Linked DNA regions of Homo sapiens: region 2 is linked to region 1. Evidence: promoter capture Hi-C in 16 types of primary human blood cells and fetal thymus (Javierre and others, 2016). All regions are on one chromosome and are shown on one strand. Each heading gives the region's core, a stretch centred on a gene start or on the middle of the fragment in contact. The rest is flanking DNA. Distances are from core to core; before and after follow the strand shown. Region 1 holds the start of LRP1-AS (LRP1 antisense RNA). Region 2 overlaps BAZ2A (bromodomain adjacent to zinc finger domain 2A).

Region 1 (5,960 bases), core at 1,425-3,924:
GTGAACCCGGGAGGCAGAGCTTGCAGTGAGCCAAGATTGCATCACTGCACTCCAGCCTGGGCGACAGAGTGAGACTCCATCTCAAAAAAAAAAAAAAAAAAAAGAAGGAAGTTTTCCTGTTACAGGCTCCATAGGCCTCTGGAGCTTCTTTGATCATGGCCTCTTCACCTGACTGCAAATACTGTAAGGAGAGCGCTGCCTTTTGTCTTTGTCTCAGGCGTCTGACACACATGTATTGATCCATTGAACAAATATTTATTGAAGACTGAGTCTGTTGTTCTAGAGCTGGGACATCATTTTCCCCCTCTCTTCTACTGCCAGGATCCTGCCTCTCTGGCCTTGGGACACTCCAAGACAGTGGGAGAGGACAGTCTGTCTAGTAATCCTACTCAGGGATCTCGCCTGGGCCTGGGAGAGATGGCGGAGAGTCTGAGGACTTCGAAGGTGGGAAGGAGACCTCCTGGCGAGCCTGGCAGAAGCTCTGCTAAACGATGTGGCCTCATGCTCCTTGTTTCCTGCTGGGTCCCGACTTCAGCTCTTCCTTCCACCAGCCAGTCTGGAGCTTAGCCGTGTTGTGTCACCTCGTTCTCCTGGGCTCTCTTCCTGCTCCTGCCTGTGATTCCAGCCTGTGGTTATGTCCTGCTACCTTCCCCTGCCTGGCTTAGGTCCCCAAGAGGCATTTCGACCTAGATCCCAGGGATGATGCCTGGATTCCACTCAGCCCATCTTAGGGTCTTCCCTCTATTGAGAAATCCTTGCCGGGCTCTAAAACACATCTCTCTTGCTTAAGTTACTTCCTTTGGCTTGAAAACAGCAAGGGGAGTGCTGGGAGCAGTCTGGGTGGAGAGGCAATTTCAAGGAGACAGCGGGGGAGGAGAGGACAGGGCTGGATCTGGGCCGGGAGACACAGGGCTGGCCCGGGCCAGGAGAGAGGAGGAGCAAGAGTGAGCTGTTAAATGATTAGGAAACTCAGAACAGGAATGGGAAGCAAAAGTGCCAGGATGCAGGGGGCCTAAGGCCAAAGAGTGGGGTGGCTAGAGCCACCCCTCCCCAAACAGCCTGGCATCCCATGGGTCAGAAAGGCCAAGGATGGGCATGGTTAGCTTTCACATGTGAAGTCTGGAAGTGCTTTGTAGGCAGGGTGGGAGGCTGAGAGGGTCCAGGGGTGCCCAGCACAGTGGGGAGGTAGCACCCCTTCCAGCAGCAGCAGCCAGTTCATTAGACTCAGAGGGACTGCTGTCTGCCCCTTCTTTGCCTCCCCTCTAGACAAATCACTACCCCATTTCCTGTTGTGATTTCGAAAACACACACACTAAAAAAATAAATAAATAAAAGAAAGGGAGAGGAAGGGAAAAGTGAAGTTGGCCAGCTGGACCTGGGACCCATTTCGCAACCTTGCTGCCTGCAGCCTAGGGGCCCTTTGCTGAGCTCCCCAGCCACCTCCTTCTTCCCCATGCAGCATGGTGCAGGGAGGGGAACCCTGAGACCTCTGAGAGCCCCTTCAGACCATCCTTTCACACACAGTCCAAACTCCTGAGTGACTTCAGCAAACCCGATTTCCTTCAAGGCCTCTATTTACAACCTCAGAACCTCCCCTCACCATACACACCCATGTTCCCAGGACCCCAATCTTGCAGTCTGCCTCATTCTTTCTACAGTGGTGGCATCCTCCAAGGTGAAGGGAATACAGATCAGAGGAGCTCAGCTTAGGAAATGCAGGGCTGGGCTGGGGTCGGTAGACTGCACCACCAGGCCTGCCCAGGGGCAGCCTGGCAGGAGGCTGGACAAAGCTGGGTTACAGGCTCCATAGGCCTCTGGAGCTGAGAGACTGGTCAGAGGTGGGGGTGAGAGTGCGCAGGCCTGGTTCCTGACTAAGGGACTATCAGGCCTGTTGATCCCTCTGGGCCTCAATTTTCAGAACTTTAGTCTTTTGTGTATCACTTTCAAAATGTCTACCATGCTTATGTACAGCTTGCGCTACTGTTTATTACCAGTTATTTCAATTAACTTACTTTTCTTATTTCGCTGCATGCTAAACAATTGCTGAAGTAACAGATTTGATGTGCTAGTTACAGGAGTTTCCTAATGCATATCAAATAAAAACGTAACTATAACAGTTAAAAAAAAAAAAAAAAAGCTTGTCCAGGTACCATCTAAAATCAAATCAATGCATAGCCCCTTTGAGAAAGCAGTAGTGAAAGCCAGGGCTGCTCTTGGTACTGGCCAAGGGTCTTGCCTTCTCTTCCGGCTCTCACCATGGAGTTCTCTGGTCTTGGAATTCGAGCCTCATAGACCTCCCCAAACCACTGGGCCAGCGGCAGAGGGGAGGGGGAGGTAATCTCAGGTGGGAGGAAAAGAGATGACCCACCCAATCCAGGGGGATAACACTGGGCCTGAGGCAGGAGGGTCAGCAGCCCTGGGGCATTGAAGAGGAATGTTCACACACTGCAGGGCCTCAGGGGGGCCCTCGGGGGCTCTCAGGACTCCACAACAGGTCTGACTCACATGGCCCAGGACACATGTGAACCAGGCTCATTTCCTGGCCTCCTTCCTTCTTTCTATTCTATTTCTGCTTCCAGAGTTTTCTCTGGGGCAGGCTCCCCCTTCTGCCTGCACCAGCGGGCTGGCCTCGCTGGCTCGAACACCCCTCAATTGTCAGACTCCTCCCTCTGTGTGCACCCCTGCTGCATGAGGCTCAGCCCCAGGGGTCCAACAGAGGTCACAGTCACAGCACAGAATGGAAGGCTTGCAGGGAGGGCTGCCCTGGAGGGCAGAGTGAAAGCAGGGGAAAGCTGCAGCCTTTCTTCTTCGTCCTCCTTGGGGAGCTAATTACAGGCCAGCAGCCACTGTGCAGGTGAGTGCCTGGGACCAGCCACCCTACACACCAGGGCAGGCCAGTCAGCATCTCCTGGGGAGGGGGATGACCCAGAAACTGGGGGAGGGGCTAGGGGAGAGACACTGACGTCCTCAGTTTGGGACCCATAATTAGTTTGTGGGAGAGAGCAAAACAACCATCCTCAGGGTGACAGCCAGACATTCAGGCGGCAGGGACGTGGAGCAGGGGGAGGGCAGGGAGGAAGGGACAGAAGCTGGGATGAGAGAAACCCACTCATTTACCCCACAAGCATTTCCCCTTGGACTCTTCTAGCCTCCTGGACTCTGCCCCTGAGAGGCCCAGTGAGTTTAGCAGACTGGGAGGCAAGGCAAATCTGTTTGCCAAGGGAGGGGTACCAGCTTCTCCTGGGGAGGAAGTCAGATAAGGAGATGAGGCCAGAGTAGAAGTTGAGAAGGTTACCTCCAGGACACCCCATAGCCACCTACCCAGAAGCCCACTGTATGGCAAGATGCAGGGCTGGGGAGGAAACTGACAAGCTGTCTGCCCAGACAGGCCTGTTGAGTAGGTCAGTGGACAAGGAACAGGGGGAGGGCAGCTGCACAAGAGGGTCTAGCACCAATCCCACCCCATCAGCCATGGGGTTCCCTGAGTCGCCCACTCGTTAAGAGCTCAGCCAACCAGGCTTGACAGCCCCCAGCTCAGCACCCCAAGGAGGACACATGTCTGATCACAGGTGAGCTGTGGACAGCAGCAGCCCAAGGACGCTATCAGGGATGCTCTGGAGGAGCCAAAGGCAGAAATGTGAACCTTACGCTGAGGCCACGGAGAGTGAGGGCTCTCAGAGGAACCCCTGCTCGCCACCATCCCGGGGAGGGGCCTTTCTCTCTCCCAGAATGAATCCCTTGTAACCTCCTGGGATCTTTCTTTTCATCACAAGAACCAAATAAAGAAACTTGAAGATCTTCTAGAGAGGCCCAAGGTTCACAATCCTCAACTTCAAAGTGTGCTGTCCTTTACCACTGGCTTTCACTCCAGTTAATCTGATCTAGACAGACAAGCTCAAACCCATTATGCAGATTAGGAAACCAAGGCAGAGATGGGAATTCTGGTTTACTAAACAGTTACAGATCAAGTTAATCTCCCTTAGGGGGTCAGATCAACCACAGGCCAGATTCTTCCTCTCAGCCCTGTGGTGCATTTCTTTGGAAATGTGATGCTGCCAGATGTTGACTTTTAAGGTTGCTGGTGTAACAGCCTCTGAGATGGGCAGGGCTGTTCCCGGCAGTGGGTCTACACCCAGCTATGCTCGTGCCCCTTTCTGTGACACCCCTTCTTCCACAACTAGGATAGCAAAAGTGTAGCCTAGGGAGAAGCCTGAATGGAAGCATCCAGGATATTCTAAAATCTCATGTGGCTCACGCTCCTCTCCCAGCCTCATTCACTGCCACAAAGCCACAGAGAAATAACCTCAGTACTGCCCTCCCCCGATGGCAGCAGAGAGTCCATTGGCAATGGTCCCCGAGGGAAACGATGGCCCATGGAGACAGAGCAGCTGGGCCCCAGCTCCTTTACCCTCAGCTGCAGCCTAACAGGGCACCTCAGGCTTCCGCTCCTTCTTTCCCTAGCCTTGGCTCCCACTGCACCGGAAAGTCCCTCTGCAGTCTAGTCAACACTCCCCTCTCAGAGAAGGGACAGTCCCTGGTCTCTGGAGATTGACCATTCACTGCCCCCTCAGCCCTTGGCCAGAAATGCAGGGGCCATCCAGACACTTGCTCAGAGAGCTGGGAGGGAGCGTGCCGGTGGCTCTGCCCCTGCCTCAAACACACACCATTGTATCCAGCCTCCTGCTTCTCCTGCCCCAGACAGGACCATCCTGTGTAACTCCCGGCCTCTGTTCAAGATAGGGTCCACCTTCCCTGTCTCCCCTACCCTCCCCAGCCCTCCAAGCTGAGAGCAGGTGACTCACGGTGCAGACTGAGGGAGATGTTGATGGTGTGCTCATCCACGAAGCCCTTTAGGCCAGGCATGCGGGCACACTTGAGCTGCGTCTGAGCAGCACTGTCCCCAACATGCACCCAGCATACGGTCTCGTTGGCATAGCTGAAGTCCATGGCTGTGGTCTGCCGCGTGCTCGTAGGTGTGATGGTAGACACCTGGGCCCCACTCAGGTACGTGGCCAAGATGTTCTGGGAGTTGGCTATCAACAGCACAGGGGGCCGGTCTACTGGCTCTGGGAATGGGGAAGAGAAGAGTCCGTGCAGCCAGGGCTCTAGGACCACCTCTCAGGCCACCACCCACCAGGGAACAGCATTGAGGGGGCTTAGTTAGCACTGTGGCCAGAGGCAACCCCACCCACCGTTCTTGGCCTTGCAGGAGCGGTTATCCGGCTGCAGGAGGTATCCTTCAACACAGCCACATATGAAGGAGCCGTCTGTGTTGGTGCATAGCTGGCTGCAGGTGCCGTACACTGAGCACTCATCAAAATCTGCCGAGGAAAGGGCAAGAATGTGGTCATTTCCAGTGTGACAAGGGCAACGAAGTGGGTGATCATCAGACATGATCAACATGTCCATCCTTACAGCTACCTTGAAGGACAGTTCGGCAGAATCTATTACAGCATGAAATGTGCAAACCTTAACACCCAGCAAGTCCAGTCTTGGAATCCACTCTAGAGAAACACTCGTGTACATATCACTCATCCACGCAGGGAAGATTTATTGAGTCCCTACTATGGGTCAGGTGCCAGGGGTGCATCAGTGAACTTTAAAATAGACCCACATTGCTGTCCTCATGAAACTTATATTCAGATAATAAATGAAATATAGTTACTATAATAACATATGAAACAAAGTAAATAAAGTATACATTAGAGGTGCTAGTGCAATGAAAAGAGAACAGGGATAGAGAATGCAGATGGCAGGGATGCAGTTTTAGAGGGGTCGGGGGACGGCTTCACTGAGAAGGTGGCATTTGCACAAAGACCCGAGGGAGGCAAATTTAAAACAGAAAAGTTTGCATTGCTTGTAGCAGTGAAAAATTGGGAACATCTCACTCATCAACAGGGAGGTGACCAAGTAAACTGTGGTAAAAGTCATACGTCATAGTGGTTTCTAAAAGAATGATG
Region 2 (6,284 bases), core at 3,097-5,596, 530 kb after region 1:
ACTGAGACTACAGGCAGGAACCACCATGCTCAGCTAACTTTTTTATTTTTTGTGGAGACAGAGCCTTGCTATGTTTCCCAAGCTGGTCTTGATCTCCTGACCTCAAGTGATCTTCCTGCTTCAGCCTCCTGGAGCACTAGGATTACAGGCATGAGCCACCATGCTTGGCCTATTTTTATTTTTAAAATTTCAGTTAAAATTGATTAAGATACAGACAATTCCCACATACTATGCAGGGTTTATATATCATGCTCAGACTTATGTTATATTCACATTTATACTAATGGTGTCTAATTTTAGTAATGTAGCATATTTATGAATGTAACTCTTGCAGACTTTGGCCAGTGGGCATATATATTCTTTTCTTTTCTTTTTTTTTTTTTTTTTTGAGACAGGGTCATGCTCTGTCACCTAGGCTGGAGTGCAGTGGCATGATCATGGTTCACTGCAGCCTCGACCTCCTGGGCTCAAGTGATCCTTCTGCCTTAGCCTCTCGAGTAAGCTAGGACCACAGGTGTGCCCCACCACACCCTGCTCCTTTTTTTTTTTTTGAGATGAAGTCTCGCTCTTGTCCCCCAGGCTGGAGTGCAATGGCATGATCTCCGCTCACTGCAACCTCCGTCTCCCAGGTCCAAGCAATTCTCCTGCCTCAGCCTCCCGAGCAGCTGGGATTACAGGTGCCTGCCACCACGCCCAGCTAATTTTTGTATTTTTTAGTAGAGGTAGGGTTTCACCATGTTGGCCAGGCTGGTCTTGAACTCCTGACCTCAGGTGATCCGCCAGCCTCGGCCTCCCAAAGTGCTGGGATTTCAGGTGTGAGCCACCGTGCCTGGCCTTCACACCCTGCTACTTTTAAAATGTTTTGTAGAGATCGGTTCTCGCCATGTTATCCAGCTTGGTCTTAAACTCTTAGCCTCAAATAGTCCTCCTGCTTTGGCTTCCAAAGTATTGGGATTATAGGTGTGAACCACTATGCCAGGCCTCATCATATATGTACTTAACCAGTGTATTCATTCTTTTTTTTTTGAGATGGAGTTTCACTCTTGTCGCCCAGGCTGGAGTGCAATGGCGCAATTTCAGCTCACTGCAACCTCTGCCTTGCGGGTTCAAGCGATTCTCCTTCCTTAGCCTCCTGAGTAGCTGGGATTACAGGTGCCTGCCACCACACCCAGCTAATTTTTGTATTTTTAGTAGAGACAGGGTATTACCATGTTGGTCAGGCTGGTCTCGAACTCCTGACCTCAGGTGAGCCACCGTACCTGGCCTGAATTCTTCTCTTTTTTAAAATGTAGTAACATAATTCAAGGAGTTGCTTTTTCTGTATCAAGACAGATTATGTTTCTCACATATCAAGTTGGTATGCACTAGGATGTCACAAGAATCCGATTGATATGTTAGAGTTTACCAATAATTCTGGCTTCTGCTTGCTTTCTTTCCTTTCCTCTGTCAAAGTTAAATTCATTCTGATCAAGGGCTTCTTATCATTCTTAGTAGTATTCAGAAAGGGTGAAAAACTTTTTAGCCATACCTCAATGAGCCATTGCACTTTACAAATATAAGTATCTTGCTATTTTATTTTCCCTGTGACCGTTTCTTTATATTTAAGCCACAAAACTAAAACATTAGGAAATAACCATAATAGACATAACAGAATAATATTTTTTGGGATACCCTCATATTTAATCAATTTTCCACTGCTGACATTTTTCTGACCTGTGTTCTTGGGGAGCATAAAGAGTAGAAGTATTGCTGGATGATTCGAGGTTTGCCATTATGATCACCTTCCTGAAATGTATTCTCCTTTTCAAATCCCTTTACTAATGTAACTACTATCTTGAGATATCTAGGGCTATGGATAGGATAATTAGAAATTATGTTTAGCTCAAGTTTAATAATGAAACAAAGAGTGTTTATCAAATATGCTTTTCTGTCAAAAAGATGGCTTTGAGAACCTTTTGTGGGCCTGGGAGGGAGACTTTACCTTGGGGATAAAAACAAAAGGATGGAGAATGTTAAGTGGTACAGTAGAGGCTAATATCTAATATAGAAGGGTAACCTGGGCTGAGTGGGGCTTACACAGAGGGAAGACTCCTCCAGGTTTGTATCTTGGTTTTTCTCGCTAACTTGCTTTGTTTTTTAATCTACAAAGCTGGCTTTAAAAGACTGTTTTCATAGGTTCATTGCTCAGGCTAGAGGCATATTTTCTCCTTCTCTTTTCTTATTCTGTACCTTCCCTCACACAGTACTTAGGTAGGAGAAGGGTAAGTAGGTGGAGGGGAGGGGTCATTGCCCCTGGAAGATTCCAGGTGACATAACCTTGTTTAACCGCCAGTATTTTTTTTCCCTCTCTCTCCCCTCCTGCAGAAATGGAGGCAAACGACCATTTTAACTTTACTGGCCTTCCCCCTGCACCTGCTGCCTCAGGACTGAAACCCTCTCCTTCCTCAGGGGAGGGCCTCTACACTAACGGGTCTCCCATGAACTTCCCCCAGCAAGGGAAAAGTGAGTGTGAGGGCTGCTTGGCCTGGGGAGGGAATGGGCATCATCCCTTTAGGGCAGATTCATGGGGGGATATTTTGCTCTACTTTGCTGCTGGAGAGAAATCAACTTCTAAGAACAAGTTCTAGGGTTTTTTGGAAACATTTTTTGTATTGATTTAAGGTTGGAAGAGATTAGAAAAACCCACTGGCTTTTTCATCTTAGCCTGTTCTTCTGTCAGCCCTGTTCCCCTGGCTGCTGACAGAGCAGTGAAGTGGCTACTGCTGCTGATAACCCATGAGAGAGATAAAGTGCTAGCCTTCTAAGAAGCTGTTTTTAGAGGTTAGGGAAGCTACACTGGGCCAGGACTGAGAGTTGAATGAAGGTTGCAGTGTATTTATTGCCTTTTAGTTTGTACATCAGAGAAAGGCAGATGCTAGAAGTACTTATTCCACCTTCTGTCCTTGGATGGAAGGTAGGGACAAGGGAAAGTTTAATGCTTACCTAGTTCCCCCAGAGAGAAGTTCATAATTCCATATGGAGGTGTTGCTGCCAGGATTGGGTCTTTTCCTGGATTTGGCTTACCAGTTGCTCTGTACCATGACTCGCCAGGTACCTCTGTAATCTTGCTTGGGTTTCAAGTCCTTTATACTTGGAAGCAGAGAGAAGCCCACATGCTTCCCTCCTTTCTTGTAGCAGAAAAATCCTGCTACTTCTCCCTCCGATCCTCTCGAAGAGGGTTGCAGATGGTAGAAGCTCCTTTATTTCATTGGATTCCACCCTACCCTCAAGCTTCCTTAATATCTTGGTTCTTTTTGATTGATTGTCCTCCATCCCAGAGGTTGCCATTGATGATGAGAGCTGAATTCTACAGCACACAAAGTGCCCCCCCTACCCCGCCAGCTGGCATATTACCTTCCAATGCCTATAGGGAAGGGCCAAGCCCAGCCTTCTGAGCTGGGTTCTTGTCGCTGTGGTGACTGCAAATTCTATTCTTAGCCCAGCACAAAGTGCTGGATCTGCATGTGCCAGTGAGGTGGAGGTTGTTCCTTTTGGTACCACTGTGGGGCCAAATAGGCACTGGGGAAAGGGGGCCCCTAGCGAATTCAGTCATGCCCCTCCAAGGGAAGAAATCCCCTAGGGAATGAGAGTAGGGCAGAATGCAAGTCACTGTAGGGAGTCTGCAAACAGTTTCATTTAATTAAAAACAAAAAAAAAGGCCAGGCGTGGTGGCTCACGCCTGTAATCCCAGCACTTTGGGAGGCCGAGGCAGGTGGATCACGAGGTCAAGAGATGAGACCATCCTGGCCAACACGGTAAAACCCCGTCTCTACTGAAAATACAAAAATTAGCCGGGCGTGGTGATGGGCGCCTGTGGTCCCAGCTACTCGGGAGGCTGAGGCAGGAGAATCACTTGAACCAGGGAGGCAGAGGTTGCCGTGGGTCGAGATTGCACCACTGCACTCCAGCCTGGTGACATAGCGAGATTCCGTCTCAAAACAAACAAACAAAAAATAAACCAAAAAAAAGCCAGCAGTAAGCAGCAGCAACCAGCTCTGCTGGTGGCTCTCATGGTAGGCCTGGAGAGCTCTCTAGCCCCCTACTCAGCCTCAGCAGCAGTTGCTAAACCTACATCCAGGAGCCTCTGGGCTTGGTGTTCTCCAGAGACCCAAAAACTAAATATAGCAGGGGAGGAATCCCCCTTCCCTTTACCATGTCTTTTTCTAGTCAGTGCTATTACTTTGAGTTTGTTTTGGTAAAGTTGCTTGCCTACATATCTGTAACTGACCTTTTCTTTCTTTCTCTGCCAGGTTTGAATGGGGATGTGAATGTTAATGGCTTATCTACTGTATCTCACACTACTACTTCAGGGATTTTGAACTCTGCTCCCCACTCCTCCAGCACCTCACACCTCCATCACCCCAGCGTGGCCTACGACTGTCTCTGGAACTACTCACAGTACCCATCTGCCAATCCTGGCAGCAACCTCAAGGACCCACCCCTTCTCTCCCAGTTCTCGGGGGGACAATACCCACTCAACGGCATCCTTGGGGGCAGCCGGCAACCTTCATCCCCAAGTCATAACACTAACCTTCGGGCTGGGAGCCAAGAGTTCTGGGCCAACGGTACCCAGAGTCCCATGGGGCTTAACTTTGATTCACAAGAACTGTATGATTCCTTTCCTGACCAGAATTTTGAGGTGATGCCCAATGGACCCCCTAGTTTTTTCACCTCCCCACAGACTTCTCCTATGTTGGGATCTAGCATTCAAACCTTTGCACCCTCCCAGGAGGTAGGCAGTGGTATCCATCCTGATGAGGCAGCAGAAAAGGAGATGACTTCAGTTGTGGCAGAGAATGGCACTGGCTTGGTAGGCAGCTTGGAGCTGGAAGAAGAGCAGCCAGGTATAACTGGGTTGGTGAACTGGGTGGGGAAAGGAAAAATGGAGCTCGGGGGGGATAGTGGCTTTTTGAGGTGAGAAAAACTTGTCTTTCCAGCTCTCTGCAGTGGAGGCTGATTTGCATGTTGGTGATTAGCAATTAGCAGAGCCAAGTGGCTGGTGTTTTTGTGGCAGCAGCACCAGCTCGCGAGTGGGAGTGCAAATTATTTCAAGCTCATGCAGAGCTTCTGGCCTGGAGAGGGCAGGTGGGCGAGCCCGAAACAGCCCCAACAGACACCCTGCATCAAGAAAGGCTTCTTTCAAAATATACGGAGTGGTTAGGGTCTAGCAGCGGGCATTGAGGCTGTTTTAACTGACTGTGGCAGGATCAGACTGGCTGTTAAAGTCGTCTGAGCCCAATGTAGTGATTGGCATGCGAAGGAGGGAAGGAAGCAGGCAGAGCATATCATTATTTGTCTACTCAGTTTCCTTTTTTTTGTTGTTTAGCATTAGTACACGTGACAGCCCCTCTCATCTTTTCCCTCAAAATAGATAAAAGCTTAGCTTCCAGTTGATTCCTGGTACAAGGGTAACCACCACTCTGTAAAATTACAGGATGTTTTCTCGTTTCCCAATGGATGGAGGAGATATCTGAGAACATGATAGAGATGTTGTATCAGACCCCACTCTCTTTTCCTCTCTTTGCCTGCTGTAGGATTGATTTTACCAGCACATCTCTGCTCAGAGTATCTTGATGTGATCGGTTCCCAGCAATGAACTGGCCGCAATAAATGTTGAATGAATGAACATCCTTCTAGCAAAGATTGACTGCCTAGTATAGCTAAGTGAACCAATATAAGGCACTGATTTTGACTTTTGGTCTCTCCTGTGATTTCCTAGAACTGAAGATGTGTGGCTACAATGGCTCTGTCCCTTCTGTGGAATCGTTACACCAAGAGGTCTCAGTCCTGGTCCCTGACCCCACAGTGAGCTGTTTAGATGATCCTTCACATCTTCCTGATCAACTGGAAGACACTCCAATCCTCAGTGAAGACTCTCTGGAGCCCTTCAACTCTCTGGCACCAGGTAGGTTTGGAGGCTATGTCCCTTTAACTTATCCATGCAGAGTAGCCAAACTTTACCTGAAAGAGACAGTAAAATGGGAAAAGTATTAGGCAATCAGGGGCACTGGGGCTTCCAGGTAGGCCTAAGGCAGACCACAGTTACATGCCACAGGACTTGGTGCCCTAACTGAATTCTGAGCTGAATTGGTTCATGTCCCAGGTTCTTTCCCAGTATTCCTTTTGGCCAAGAGCTCTGGGCTGTAATAATTCACTGGGTAGGGACTTATTATCACACAGTTGATCTTTCTGGGTTCTGACAAACTAGGAAGAAAACATTTGTCAGTGAGCAGTTACCTTTTACT

What was found. Contacts are between HindIII fragments. The CHiCAGO score rates a contact against its expected background, and 5 or more counts as called.
Region 2: a contact is called between a fragment that was not itself captured here and the fragment with the promoter of LRP1-AS in region 1, in 1 of 17 cell types (monocytes). The highest score is 5.0, in monocytes.

Annotation. Positions count from the first base shown.
Region 1 is chr12:57,144,333-57,150,292 of GRCh38, reverse strand. It overlaps LRP1-AS (LRP1 antisense RNA), which reads left to right and starts at 2,674. Exons shown (of 2, transcript NR_131938.2): 1 at 2,674-2,854; 2 at 5,210-5,673. It overlaps LRP1 (LDL receptor related protein 1), which reads right to left. Exons shown (of 89, transcript NM_002332.3): 5 at 5,193-5,321; 6 at 4,803-5,066. RefSeq lists enhancers at 347-1,274, 3,132-4,060. The HindIII fragment of the contact is 5,560 bases long and covers 2,140-5,960 here.
Region 2 is chr12:56,613,613-56,619,896 of GRCh38, reverse strand. It overlaps BAZ2A (bromodomain adjacent to zinc finger domain 2A), which reads left to right. Exons shown (of 29, transcript NM_001300905.2): 2 at 2,365-2,502; 3 at 4,290-4,883; 4 at 5,759-5,944. The coding sequence starts at 2,367. Among named protein-coding and RNA genes, the nearest start is that of BAZ2A, 14 kb to the left of the region's middle. The HindIII fragment of the contact is 2,147 bases long and covers 3,273-5,419 here.